3 separate regions of the Homo sapiens genome follow, and all the other regions are linked to region 2. Evidence: promoter capture Hi-C in 16 types of primary human blood cells and fetal thymus (Javierre and others, 2016). All regions are on one chromosome and are shown on one strand. Each heading gives the region's core, a stretch centred on a gene start or on the middle of the fragment in contact. The rest is flanking DNA. Distances are from core to core; before and after follow the strand shown. Region 1 overlaps LOC102724520 (a long non-coding RNA gene). Region 2 holds the start of GMPR (guanosine monophosphate reductase). Region 3 has its middle 110 kb from the start of LINC02543.

Region 1 (2,700 bases), core at 123-2,622, 510 kb after region 2:
TTTCTCAACAAGAAGGTGCTGCCATTTGTATTATGCCATTTAGGTACTTAATTTCTATATTCAAAGCTGGATGTTGAACTAAGCTACCATGCACCTGCTACACTCTCATTTGCCCTCATTATCTTAAGGATATGGTTGGGATATGGTCATGCTTGTAGAACTTGATGAACTTCAGATCTCTCAGAGGCTGTGTTTTTTATACATGTCCCCCATCAGCCTCCCTCAACCTTTGTTCAGGTTCTTTTGACGGGGCTGTGTGATGCCTGTCTGCATTCTGCCCTTCGCCCCTGACGAATTCATTCAGAAGAAGTCAGAGTTGCTGTTCAACCGAGAACATAAAGAGGCTCTTCTCCCTTGGAAACCACTGTGTACCTTTGATTCAGATCTCTCTCAATCTGCCCTAGGAACTTCTAATAAAAGAATTAGGAGGAATGTTGACATTCTCTGTGTCTGGAAAGGCAGGAGGGCCACCAAAGAAAGAGAACCTATGAGGAAGTGCAGCATAGGCAGTAGGGCACTGCCCAGACCACCTCCTCAACCCCCCACTTCATGAAGGACATGCCTCGTCAGGGATTTCTCAGCTGTGGAGAACTCCCTTGACCGAGGTCACCCCCCTTCCCAGAGTGGCCCACATGGAATAAAAAGGCCGGGCCATCTAGGCCCACCTTGGGACGCTTCTGAAGGGCCATTTCCACTCCAGTGCGCCCCACGGGCAGGGGCTGTGGTGATGCCTGCATGACAGCTCAGCTTCTTCTGCCCACACCTTCCACAGATGTTGATCCTGAGGGCAGTCCCTAATCAACACCCTGCACACTAAACTCTGGGGGACCCACCCTGTGACAGAGTGCTTATTTGGAAAAGGGAAGGGACATTATCATGATCTGCTGTCTTCTATATCATTTCCAGATGCTGGTCTGTTATCACTAACAATAATTACCACTAACCTCTCTGGTAAGGAGACAACACCGAAACAAAACTGGACTGAGAATAAGCTCATAGCAAAGGAGGAAAATCAAAAGTTTTTACCTCATCAGCAGCATCAATGACGTGAAATTGCCAGGCATTTCACCTCTATTACTTCAGTTAACTCTCACAAACATTTGATAAAGCAGATCTTATCCTCATTCTGTGAATTAGGAAACCGACCTGGAGACGGAGAATAACTTGACTAGACCACAGGGATCAAATGCATTTAAGCCTCAGTCTTCTGCCTCCAAACCCCAGCTAAATGTTGCTGTATTCAACATATAGTTAAATAATGCCTTACACATGTACCTTTTGAAAACTGGGCCTTGCCTGCAAAAGATATTGCTTTCAAACAAAGTTATATTGTACTATACTGGTGTAAAGTTTATTTTGTGGTTTAAGACAGTATCTAATAAAGTCTGTGTAACGTGGAGTTTGAATCAAGTTGAGTCCTCTAAAATCCATTGAATAGAGAGGCTGAAACTCTTAACAGTTTTGTATTCTGTCTCTCTGTTTCTTCTGTTTTCTAGTATTAATGGACAGACTGTGTATGAGGATAGATTAGCATTTTCGAGAACGATTTCATCAAAATGCAGCTCAGTCCTTTGACTCCTGCTAGCAGGTTTCCTGGACCCTATGGTAGGCATTTTATGTCCCTCCTTCACCCCTGGCTTCCTCTTTATCCTTTGTTGTTGCTTTGTCCTCATTTCCCCCATTACTTACATATTTGTTTCATCTTTTAACCTGCTGTTTATGTTGCTCTCAGCTGTTTCAAATCCTTTTTAGAAAGTCATTTCCATGTTCTGCATTACTTCACCTCATCTTTTCCCTGTAAGAAAGGTACCAGAATAATAGCTTCTTAATCTTCTAGAAACCACACGGATATCTGAGCCAGCATGGTAGAGGGGTCATAGTTATGCTTCTCCCACACATTTGTTAATATTAGGGAGGCAGAGTTACACAGCGTAACAAGCCTAGGATTTAGAGTCAAATGGACAGGGGCTCAAATCCCAGCCCTACCAATGAATGCTTTGGGCACATTCATCTTTGTACACATTAACCTCTCTGAACATAAAATAACACAACTTGAAATGTTGGGTAGAGTAAGTAATGTATTTGAGGCATCGGAAGTTGTTCAATAAATGGGCCCTGTCATTTTCACTAGATTTTAAGCCCCTCGTGGGCAGAGAAGGCGCCAATTCAACTCCAGCCTCTCAAATCATGCCTGATAGTATTAAGTGTACTCTAAAGTAATGATGCATCACTGAATGGCTGTGAATGACATTGTGGTGCAGGGAGAAGAGCGATGGATTGTGAGCTCTGCCATTAGCCAGTTATATGGCTGTTGGAAGCCTTGTTAGGCCTCTATTTCTTAAGAAGTAAAGTGAGGTATAACTGGATCATTTCTGTGATCCCTTCCAGGTTTAAGGTTGATGATTTTATGGAGTCTGACAAATGTTTGGTCCCAGAGATGGGTAGGATAGATCAGAGATGTCCCCATCTTCTCTCTCTCTCTCTCTCTCTCTCTCTCTCTCTCTCTGCTTCACCAGACATTGGCTGTGTACTGAGCTTAACTTTGCCTAAGGCTGCCTCTCACTGAGCTCTGCAGGAGAGGGAAGGGAGACTCCCAAGGATCACCAATGGCAGCAACAAGAGAGCTTCATCCCCCTATCACAGCACCTTTGAAAGGGACAGAAGCCCTAATACCAGCCAAGATTGTGTATTATTCTGATT
Region 2 (2,700 bases), core at 184-2,683:
AGGCCTGCCCTCCAAACTGTTTTTGTTCCAAGAGAGGCCCCCTCTTTAGCACCTGAAAGGTCATGAGGGACAGGCACAGGGTCACCCAATCTGGGGCGATAAGTTTTAATCATTCCTCCCCTACGTCCTCCAGTCCTGCCGGGCTCCAAACCAGCCAATGCTGCTGCTTACAGAAGGCCACTTGGTTTAGTCATTGGCTAACGCGGAGGCTTCCCCAATCCAAGCAAGCCCTCGGCTGGCAGCCCCAGGCACTGCAGTTAGGCCTGGCACCGGAGTGGGCAGCGGACTTCTTTGCTGAGGGGATTTATTTATGGTCTTGTTTGTGGAGCTGAGTGGACGGAGCTGTGCAGGTTGGCCCAGCCTCCTCGTGTTTACTCCTTCAGCCCCAGCCTTCAACCGTGTCCGGTTTCCTCACCTTCCTCTCCAGCTCTCAGCAAAGCCAGTCACCAGCGCACACCACCCCGGGGCACTCTGCCTTTCAGGCAACTAGTTTATCCTTCAGGGACTGGCCTCCCTTCCCCCAGCCTCAGGCTATTTCCAGTCCGGTCTCCACCTGTTCCTTAGGATTTGAGGACATCCAGGCAGAACCAGGGAAATGCCCGAGGCTTCCAATTCGCCCCCACCTCTCTCACCCCAAAGCTTTCGAAACTCTTCTCCAGGGCTAGGCTGGGACCGCGGGCTGTCCAGTACCGCTGAGTCCCCAAGCCCCACTGCCAGCAAGGCCGCCAAACTCAGAAAGGAAACCCTGAACTTGTGCCCTGGGTTCTGGTTTTTCAGACGCGTTCACGAAGTTCCACCGCTGGACCCGAAGCGAAAGCAGCAGCAATTATCAGCACTAGGAGACGCAGCCAAAAATCACCGGGATCTGCAGTTGTTTTTCTCGTCCTCTCTCCCCTAGCTCCAGTTTCCTTTTCTTGCTATAAGCGCCCTCGTACCCCTATTCCTTCTAAACCAACTGGCCACTGGATCTCGCTCATCTGTGGTCGAGTTTCACTGTGAACTTCCCCTAGGCCACCCAACGGGACCGACGTGTAGAGAATTTCATGGGCCCCCGTATCACCGCCCTTAAAGACACCTCACGTCCTGGCAGGTGCTGGGGCGCGGGAACGGGGGCGCAGCGCCCCAGTCTCAAACACCAAAGCAGGCAGGGTAACCCGGTGCCACCCCCTTCCACCCACTTGCCCCGCGCCACCCGGAAAAAAAAATCCCACCCCACTGCGACTTCCGAACGTCCCCCACCTCGGCTCGGCTCTTGAGGCTGCTCCGCTTAGGTCGGAGCAGGACATCCTTGAAGTCGAGCTTGAGGTCCGCATCTATGCGGGGCATGGTGCAGCGGCTCCTGGCTGCGGCGGCGGCGACGGCGGGGCGGGGGCGCCTGCGCGGGGCGGCGCGGGGAGCGCCGGGGCTGCTGTGCCGCGGCCGGGAGCTGGCGTGGGCCGGGTGCGCACGCCGCGGTCTTAAACACGCCCCGCCGACCCGCGGTCACGCTTGGCCCGCCCCGGGCACCGCCTCCGCCTCAGGCAGGGGTTGAGAGGCAGACTGGTTAGGGACAGATTGGCGGCGAAGCCCTTCCTCCTCGCGCCGCCGCCCCCGTCCTTCCCCCTCAGGTGTACAGCCCGTGGCAGTGACCGAATGGGGACGGGGGAGGGAAATGCGCACCGTTCTGTTTGTCCCCAGGGTCCCCGATGGAGAGGGGACTTAGCGTGTGGCTGCCTTATCCAAGGGAAAAGTCGCTCCCTGAGAGCTTTTACTTTTTTTTTTTTTTTTTTGAGACAGTCTCACTGTCGCTCAGGCTGGAGTGAGTGGCGCTATCGCCGCTCATCGCAGCCTCGACTTCCTGGGCTCAAACGATTCTCATGCCTCAGCCTCCTCGAGTACAGGCGCACGCCGCCACACCCAGCTTATTTTAAAAATTATTTCCTAGAGGCGGGGTTTCACCATATTGCCCAAGCTGGTCTCGAGCCCCTGACCTCAAGTGATCCGCCTGCCTCGGCCTCCCAAAGTGCTGGGATTACAGGCGTGAGCCACCGTGCCCGGCGGATTCTCCTTTTTTAAAATTCAAGCCCGGTGTGCTCACCCAGTGTTGAGGAGCACGTCTCTCACTTGCCAAAGAACCAGAAACCCCAGGGAGGTTGTATAGAATTAAGGAAAAGAACGTGGGCAGTTAACTGTTTAGCTGTACTGGGATTGTGGAGGCCATGATTCCCTTTGGACTTGTTGTTAAGAGACAAGGTCTCACTGTGTTGCCCAGGCTGGTCTTGAACTACTGGGTTCAAGCAATCCTCCCGCCTCAGCTTCCCAGTGTTGGGACTACTGGCGTGAGCCACTGCGCCCAGCCTGGATTTCAGGATTTTTGTTTAAGAAAAACAGTGAGGTCTGTAGTCGACGCAGATCCTGAGATTTGAGGAGCCTGAGTCCCCTCTGAGGGTTACCAGTGATGTGAGTTCGAGGGGTTACCAGTGATGTGAGTTCATTGATTCACTTATTGACCTTACCGACCTTTTATTATACATTTGAAATGTGCTGCCGGGCTTCATGCATCATCTCATTCACTCTCAGAACAACCCAATGAAGAAAGAGCCATTTCACAGATAAGGAAAAACGAGGCTTCTATAAATGAAATAACTTGCCTAAGGCCGCAGAAAAATTCAATATAAATTTCTCAGTCCTTAAAACTTGCTACAACTATTCACTGAAGCT
Region 3 (2,700 bases), core at 96-2,595, 350 kb after region 2:
AGGCAAAGGTGCAGCTTGCTCTTGGGGGTCTGGAAGTCAAGAGAAATCGGTTGTTTTGAGGACTTAAGAGAACTTTTTCAATTCATAAGCTCCATAAAATGTAGGGGAATCTCTTCTAAAATGTAAACAGCCATATTATAGCTTGGGATATGCTACAAATTAGGTGTGAATGTACACACTGAGGCAGGTGCACCTTGCCCGGGACCCCTCTTTCCCCACCTTCTACCCCCGATATCTCCACAGATTCCCTCCCTCCTTTCACTGAGGTTTCTGTTCAAATATCATCTTATCAAAGAAAGTTCCTCTGAACTCCTCTTCTAACGAAACATCCAGACTTGTCCCCTCCCATCCCCTTACATTGCTTTGTTTTTCCTTTTAGCACTTATCATGAATAACATACTACTTTATTATACTCTTTTTAGTAAATATCCAATACCATGTAAAAAAATAGTAAAGGTTATAATTTTAAAACAATAAAAATGATTTTTTTAAGTGATAGACCAGGGTAAATTAAAGAAAAAAATAAGGAAAATACTTTTTAAAGGCATTGTGCTATTTCTTTAGTTATGGTGTTTGAGATGCTGTGTGATATGGGGGAAGGGGCTTGGCTTTGTGGAGACACAGACTTTGATGCCCGTTCTGGCTCTCTGATGTCCAGGCTTAGTGGCATTGGTTCAATCCCTCGCCCTTTGAACCTCTATGTCCTCATCTGAACACAGAAATAATCATTCGTATCTTTCTAGGATAATGGTAAAGATCAGCAAAAAATCTACAGTGTGCCTAGCATGAGGTCCACCCTTATTAAATTAGAGTTACTATTGTTACCTTAATTTAAATTCCATTAGTGATATGTTTCCTTATTTAATTCAAGTAGCTGATAGCATTTAATTTGTGAAATCAGTGTCACGAATGACATTTCTCGCTTTGGACAGGAACTGAATTACTTATTACCATGGAAGAGTAAGTTTACTCACTTTGCAATTATAATATTAATATAGATTCCTGGTACTTCAGAAACTGTTCAGCCTTATTGATACACAACTGAAAAATTAAAATAAGCAATGGTACCGCCCACCAAAAAATAGAAAGAAAGAAAAAAAGAAAAGAAATGAAAAGTCATAGCATACTACCTCACCAAAGGAGGCAGACAAGGAGGCTTAAGCTATACAACTTGATCTCTGACCTTGGAAAAATGACCCAAAGTACAGTGTGAACTGATGATAAGTTCTTAATAACTGACTTGTTTTCTGAGAGCCTGGCTATTAAAAAAAAATTCCCCTTTCTGACTATTATTATATTCAATTTAAAAATATTATTAAGTGATTGCAACTTATCACACCCTATGCTTGGCCTTGGAATACCACTATGCATGGGTCAGATCCAGACCTGTTTCCCAGGACTCAGATGCCAGTGGGAAATAGAGACAAGTATAGATTCTCTACCACCCAGTGTGGTAAGAGTAATGATGGATAGGAAAGCAGCACATATTACAGTGTTGGCAGCCATCTGTTTCTTCAGTTGCAGTTGGTAGGTGCATAGGTTTATTTTTATGATTCTGCATCATAACGTACGTGTATATTACATACTATTTTGATATACCAAGTGTTGCATAATTTAAAAGGCGAAGTAAGAGGGCTGTGGAGGCAGCCAGTGCATCCCTGTTATAACCTGGTAGATGTCACATCTAAGCCAAAAATAGAATGATGAGTGTGAGCCAGAGTAGGGAAGACAGGCAGTGGAAAGTATTCTCAGGCAGGTGGAGCACGGGAAAGAGGTCTGGAAGGAGGTGAGGGAGAGCAGACTGAGTAGTTTAGCATGGCTGAAATGTGGAGTGCGAGGCAGCAAGAGATGAGGGATGGCAGTAGAGACCTACACAGGACCGCAAACACAAAAGGCCTTGTGAGCCAGTCAAGGAAATGGGACTCTATTTCAAGGACGGTGAGGAGCCATGGAAGCATCTTCTAAAGCTGAGTTACAGGATTGGACTCACACCCTAGCTGCAGAGTGAATAGTGAATCAAAAGGAGCAAGACTGGAAGCAAGAAAATCACTGAAGACACATTTGTTTACTCATACGTTTTGCAAAGATCAGAAAGTTTTAAAATGCACAGCACTGGTAAGAGTGCAGACAGGCAGGGAATATAAATCGACATGCTCTCTTTAGAGGGCAATTTGTCAATATCTATCAAAATGAAAAATTCATATGCCTTTGATCTAACAGTTCCACTACTGTTAGGAATATATCTGGCAAATAAACTTGCACACCTAAGAAATGTGTGGAAAATGTTGTTTCAGCACTGGTAGTATGAAGATTTTTAAAATAAGTTGGATCATTCTAGGTAGAGATAAAAAGAGCACTGAGGGGCCAGGCACCGTGGCTCACGCCTGTAATCCCAGCACTTTGGGGGGCCGAGGTGGGCAGATCACTTGAGGTCAGGAGTTCCAGACCAGCCTGGCCAACATGGTGAAACCCTGTCTCTGCTAAAAATATAAAAATTAGCTGGGCGTGGTGATGCATGCCTGTAATCCCAGCTACTTGGGAGGCGGAGGCTGCAGTGAACTGAGATCGCACCACCACACGCTCCAGCCTGGGTGACATGAGCAAAACTCCATCTCAAAAAAAAAAAAGAGCATTGAGATGTGTTAAGTGATTAAAGCGAGATCACAAATATTGGGTATAGTATTCTGTCATATAAATATC

Evidence for each region. Contacts are between HindIII fragments. The CHiCAGO score rates a contact against its expected background, and 5 or more counts as called.
Region 1: a contact is called between a fragment that was not itself captured here and the fragment with the promoter of GMPR in region 2, in 4 of 17 cell types (total B cells, erythroblasts, naive CD4 T cells and 1 more). The highest score is 5.7, in total B cells.
Region 3: a contact is called between a fragment that was not itself captured here and the fragment with the promoter of GMPR in region 2, in 2 of 17 cell types (naive B cells and neutrophils). The highest score is 5.6, in naive B cells.

What each region holds. Positions count from the first base shown.
Region 1 is chr6:15,728,739-15,731,438 of GRCh38, reverse strand. It overlaps LOC102724520 (a long non-coding RNA gene), which reads left to right. Exons shown (of 4, transcript XR_427883.5): 4 at 907-1,399. Among named protein-coding and RNA genes, the nearest start is that of DTNBP1, 67 kb to the right of the region's middle. The HindIII fragment of the contact is 2,746 bases long and covers 1-2,700 here.
Region 2 is chr6:16,237,320-16,240,019 of GRCh38, reverse strand. GMPR (guanosine monophosphate reductase) reads right to left here and starts at 1,433. Exons shown (of 9, transcript NM_006877.4): 1 at 1,240-1,433. The coding sequence starts at 1,326. RefSeq lists silencers at 1,331-1,430, 1,551-1,650. The HindIII fragment of the contact is 2,876 bases long and covers 642-2,700 here.
Region 3 is chr6:15,884,803-15,887,502 of GRCh38, reverse strand. No RefSeq gene overlaps it. Among named protein-coding and RNA genes, the nearest start is that of LINC02543, 110 kb to the left of the region's middle. The HindIII fragment of the contact is 2,945 bases long and covers 1-2,700 here.